2 separate regions of the Homo sapiens genome follow, and region 2 is linked to region 1. Evidence: promoter capture Hi-C in human tissues and cell types (Jung and others, 2019). All regions are on one chromosome and are shown on one strand. Each heading gives the region's core, a stretch centred on a gene start or on the middle of the fragment in contact. The rest is flanking DNA. Distances are from core to core; before and after follow the strand shown. Region 1 holds the start of PRR22 (proline rich 22). Region 2 overlaps PTPRS (protein tyrosine phosphatase receptor type S).

What was found. The method cuts DNA at HindIII sites, captures the fragments that hold promoters and counts their contacts. A contact is called where the count stands out against the background at its distance.
Region 2: a contact is called between a fragment that was not itself captured here and the fragment with the promoter of PRR22 in region 1, in 1 of the 25 tissues and cell types used here (dorsolateral prefrontal cortex).

What each region holds. Positions count from the first base shown.
Region 1 is chr19:5,783,375-5,786,074 of GRCh38, forward strand. It overlaps PRR22 (proline rich 22), which reads right to left and starts at 1,372. Exons shown (of 3, transcript NM_001134316.2): 1 at 1,157-1,372; 2 at 1,003-1,065; 3 at 1-679. The coding sequence starts at 1,286. It overlaps DUS3L (dihydrouridine synthase 3 like), which reads right to left. Exons shown (of 13, transcript NM_020175.3): 11 at 2,229-2,417; 12 at 2,009-2,137; 13 at 1,766-1,901. The coding sequence ends at 1,829. The HindIII fragment of the contact is 36,623 bases long and covers 1-2,700 here.
Region 2 is chr19:5,309,315-5,312,014 of GRCh38, forward strand. All of the region lies in intron 1 of PTPRS (protein tyrosine phosphatase receptor type S), which reads right to left. Among named protein-coding and RNA genes, the nearest start is that of PTPRS, 30 kb to the right of the region's middle. The HindIII fragment of the contact is 5,079 bases long and covers 1-2,700 here.

The DNA of each region.
Region 1 (2,700 bases), core at 122-2,621:
TTCATGGCGTCCTCCAGCAGAACCTTGTCAGGCAGTGCCAAAGCTCTGGCCGTCTTGGGGGCCTTGGCCTTGCCTGCTCCCAGCAGGGCCCCCTCCTTGACCTCGGCCACCTTGAGCTCGCTGAGGCCCGGTGGGTACAGGGGCACCCCAGGTCGGGCCCCACTGCCCTGCAGCTCCTTGACGGGGAAGGCCAGGGGTTCGGGCCCAGGGAAGTGGCCGAGGTGACCCTGGAGGTGGCTGTAGGCGTCTGGGGGCAGTGTGGGCTCTGCAGGCAGCGTGATGAGTACAGGGGGCGGCTTGTTCTCCTTGGGGGGTGGGGGTGGCAGCGGGGCCGGGCCTTCCTCTAGGGGCGGTAGGGGCAGCTCCACGAAGGCGGCGGGCCCTGCGTCCCCCACAAAACCCAGAGCCTCTGGCCCGGGGCCCTCAGGCGGGAAGTAGGGCAAGAGAAACTGGGGCCCCCCGGGTGCCTGCTGGTAGTGGGGGTATGGAGGCAGCCCCGGGGCCTTGAGGTAGGGCTGAGGCTCCAGGAGGTAGCTGCCTGGGGCGGAGGGGACCCCCGCTGGCCCCCCGCTGCTTGCTGCCAGCTTATACAGGGCTGACTGGCCCAGGTCGGGGGTGGTCCACTCGATCCGATAGATGCGGGGGTCGAAGAAGCACCCGCATGGGGCCATCTGGAAACCTGTGGGCGGCAGGCGGGTGCCCTGAGAGCAGCTGCTGCCTGAGGGGCCCAGCCCAAGCCTGGGGGCCTGTTTGGGAGATGCCACAAGAACCTTGCCATTGGGGGGCCCCTTTGGGGGACGACATAGATATTGCTTTGGGGCCCTGGCTGGGTGATGGATGACACAGAGCTTGTCTTTGGGGCTCATCTGGGGGACCTGTGTGAAGCATGGGGAGCAGAGGCCATGCCTTCAGGCTCCCACTTAGGGACGGGGCAGGGGCAAGATGGGCCTGCACACTCAAACCCACTCCCAGCCTCGTCAAGGGCTCAGGGGAGGCCGGTACCTGCTGGTGGGGCTGGAAACACCTCTTTCTCTGGGTCTGGGGGATGATACAGGTTCAAGGAGCCTGTGGACAAAGGTGCCCAGGTGGGTAGGGCCCTTAGGCGGGTGGGCCCCTGAACCCTCTCCAGCAGGTGCTCCCACCCACCCGATCGTACCCATAGCGGGAGGAGGCTCGGCACAGGTGGGAGCAGGCTGGTTGCCCAGCACCTCAGCCCCCTCCAGACTCTGCGGGCTGAAACCTTCCTGGGGAGCTGCAGGGGCACAGAACGGTTTGGGGTGCTGCATGGGGCAGCGGGGGGCCCGGTCCAGACAGGCCAGGAGGGCGGCAGTGGGAGTGCAAGTGGCCCAACCGGAGAACAGGCTGAGAACCTGGTGGGGTTCTGTTTGCCTGGTTACTCGGGGCAGCGGGTTCCAGCCTGCAGCGCGCCCACTGGTTGGGGTTCTGGGTGTTGGGGGCAAGCAGGGGCAGACGTTGGCAGACATGGTCATCACCATGGGAGGGAGGATTCTGGGCCAGGCCTTTGCCTCTTCCAGCAACACCCCCCTAACAGCTTTGAGGCCGCCTCCTCCAGGCAGGCTGCCCTGATCCACACCCACACAGGCTGAGGCCCCCCGGGTCCTCAACCCGCTACCTTCTTGGGGGTCAAGGCCTCTCTGGGCACCAGCAGCACCCAGCTTGGGGCAGGGCCCATGGAGGCAGCTAAGAGGTTTGGGGAAGGTGGGGGCCGAGGAGGGGCTGCTTCAGGGTCACAGAAAGGCCTGGATTTTAAAAGAATAAAATTTATTGTACTCTCCTCGCCCCAGGGTGCCCCTGGGAAAGCCTGAGGCTACTTGTACGCGTTGGCCTTGTGCTTCGGCAAGAAGGCGAAGCTGGGGGGCACTGGCCCAAGGAGCATCTCGCTGTGGGAGAGCAGGTGGAAAGCGAGGTCAGGCCCAGGACCTGCAAAGTACCCTCCGTGACCCCGGGCCCCCGACTGCAGCTCCCCAACTCCAGCCCACCCAGGCACCTGATGCGGATCCAGTCGGCTGCCTTCTGGCTGGCCATCAGCGTCTCCAGGTAGTCGCGGCCCAGGTAGTAGGGCGGCCGCTCGTTGATCCTCTGTGGGAGCCGCTCCAGCAGCCCCACGGGCACGTACCTGCGGCGGGTGGGCGGGCAGGACAGGCTTGAGTCAGCTCTAACCAGCCGCGGCCCACGCGCCGCCCACCCCAGCCAGCCCCGGTGCCCACCGGCACAGGAAGGACAGCCACTCGAGCAGAAAGCGCCGGGTCTTCTCCACGCCCTGCGTGTCCGAGCCCCAGTGCTCCAGGCCGTAGTTGGTGAAGTCCCGCAGGATGTCCAGGCGCTCGGACGACGAGATGTCCCAGTGCCGCTGCTCCTTGATCTCCGTGAAGAGCCACGGCTTGAGCAGGGCGCCACTGTGGGACGGGTGACGATCAGTGGGCCCAGCCACCAGCCTGCCTGGGATCGTGTGGCCTCTGCTTCCATGGCCTGGCCTGAGCCGGAGCCCAGACCACAAAACCTACAAGCCTAGTAAGCCTCCCAGCTGCATGCACACAACCTTCAAAGCACAGGACTTTCTTTTGTTTTTTCTGAGACGGAGTCTGGCTCTGTCGCCCAGGCTGGGGTGCAGTGGTAAGATCTCGGCTCACTGTTCAACCTCCGTCTCCCAGGTTCAGGCAATTGTCCTGCCTCAGCCTC
Region 2 (2,700 bases), core at 189-2,688, 470 kb before region 1:
AGCCCCATCCAGCCCCAAGTGTGTAGCCCACAGCCCCTCCCAGGGCCCTGTCTATGCAGGCCACTCTCTAAGTGCTTGACGCATATTAACTCGTTTTGTTGTGCCAGTTATTTATCTCAGATGGGGAAACTGAGGCTGAGGATAGGATGTGCCTTGTCCAGAGCCAATGGCTTGCTTGTAGCACCTGAAAACCCGCTATGGGCTAAGTCAGGAGCTGCCAACTCCATGTCTCCAGGGAGAACCAGCCCACCACTTCCTGGGAACCTCCGCAGGCGTCCTGCTAATGGGGGCGTTTCCATGCCTGCCTCTCTCACCATCTTCGCCACCTCAGCTCATCTTCTCCGTCTTTACCGATGTTCAGGACAGAGGCCTGGGAGTCGTTCTTGACTCATCTCAACCCTACCCTGCAGCCAACCACTTGGAGAAGCCAGCCAACCCTTCTGCAAAATCCTTCTAGAATACAACCCCTCCTCTGCCCCTGCCTGGTCCACCCCCATCATCCCTGGCCTGGATCTGTGCCGTCCCCTCTGCTCTGGTCCCCCAGCGTCTGCACTCATCCCCCACAGTCTGTCCTTTCTGCAACAGCCAGGGGTCGCCTGTGAACACGTCGGTCAGGGCTGGTTCCTCCTTTGCCCATAGCCCTCCCTGGCTCCCACCTCCCTCAGAGTAAACGCCCAAGTCCTCCTGGTGCCCCACAAGGGCCTGCACAACCTGCTCTGTCCTCTCCCTGCTCTCCCCTCCCCTCCTCCCCCTCCTCACTCTGCTCCAGCCACACAGGCCTCCTCGCTGTTCCTCCAACATGCCAGGTGCGGTCCTGCCTCAGGGCCTTTGCACGGGCTGTGCCCTCTGCCTGGAACACCCTCCCCTCAGATGTCAGCAAACATCATTCTCTTATTCCTGTTGGTCTTACTGAAATGTCACCTCTTCTGTGAGGCCTGTCTTGATTCTGTAGCTAAAACAGCCCCTCCCTGCCACCAACCAATTCCTCTAGCTTTTTTCTTTTCTTTTTTTTTTTTTTTTTGAGATGGAGTCTTACTCTATCACCCAGGCTGGACTGCAGTGGCGCAATCTCGGCTCACTACAACCTCCGCTTCCCCCGTTCAAGCAATTCTCCTGCCTCAGCCTACCGAGTAGCTGGGATTACAGGCGCCCACCACCATACCCAGCTAATTTTTGTATTTTTAGTAGAGACAGGGTTTCACCATGTTGGCCAGGCTGGTTTCAAACTCCTGACCTCAAGTGATCTGCCCACCTCGGCCTCCCAAAGTGCTAAAATTGCAGGCATGAGCCACTGCGCCTGGCCAACTTTATTTTTCTTAAAGGCATGGCATACAGTCAATCCTTAACACATATTTAATCTATTGGCTTTATGGCTTTTGTTTTTTGGGTGTTTCTTGTTTTTGTTTTTTGAGGCAGGGTCTCACTCTGTCACCCAGGCTGGAGTGCAGTGACGCAATCTCAGCTCACTGCAGCCTTGAACTCCTCAGCTCAAGTGATCCTCCCACCTCAGCCTCCTGAGTAGCTGGGACTATAGGCTTGTACCACCACACCCGGCTAATTTTTGTATTTTTATTTATTATTATTATTATGAAACCAAGTCTCACTTTGTCTCCAGACTGGCGTGCAGTGGCGTGATCTCACTGCAACCTCTGCCTCCCTGGTTCAAGCGATTCCCCTGCCTCAGCCTCCCGAGTAGCTGGGACTATAGGTGCATGCCACCACGCCCAGCTAATTTTTTTTATTTAAGTAGAGACGGGGTTTTACCCTGTTGGCCAGGATGGTCTCGATCTCCTGACCTCGTGATCCACCTGACTCGGCCTCCCGAAGTGCTGGGATTACAGGCATGAGCCACTGTGCCCAGCCTTTTGTATTTTTAGTAGAGATGAGATTTCACCATGTTGGCCAGGCTGGTCTCGAACTCCTGACCTCAGGCGATCTGCCCGTCTTGGCCTCCTAAAGTGCTGGGATTATAGGCTGAGCCACTGCGCCCGGCCCCTATTTGTTCATTGTCCTTCTGATGCATTCCACGAGGGAAGGGTTTTTCCCTCTGTCTTCTCCGTCACTCTGTTCCCAACACCTGACCCTGTGAGGATCAGGGCCTGGTATATAGGAGGTGCTCAATAAGTATCCAGTGATGGAGCTCTAGGCCCCCAGCAGGGTCCTGGGCCCAGAAAGGACACGACGGTTGTTTTCTGAACACACAGAAGCTTTCCTTGGGGTCTGAAGGAAAATTTTAGACCTGAAACCATCCCCTGGGTGGAGGCTGGGGGTGGGGATATAAGTATCTTGGGAGCAGCCAAGGAAAGAAAAAGAACATTCCTGTCTCATCAAAGCTGTTCAGGGGAGACCCGAGCTCCCTGGCTGGCGGCTGGGGTGGAGATGGCAGATGCTCTCTGCAGGGTAACTGGGCGAGAGGGAGTGAATATTGAAATGTGCATCCCTTGGGCCGGGTGCGGTGGCTCACGCCTGTAATCCCAGCACTTTGGGAGGCTGAGGTGGGTGGATCACGAGGTCAGGAGATCGAGACCATCCTGGCTAACATGGTGAAACCCCGTCTCTACTAAAAATACAAAAAATTAGCCGGGCGGGGTGGCAGGCACCTGTAGTCCCAGCTACTGGGGAGGCTGAGGCAGGAGAATGGCGTGAACCCGGGAGGCGGAGCTTGCAGTGAGCCGAGATCGTGCGCCACTGCATTCCAGC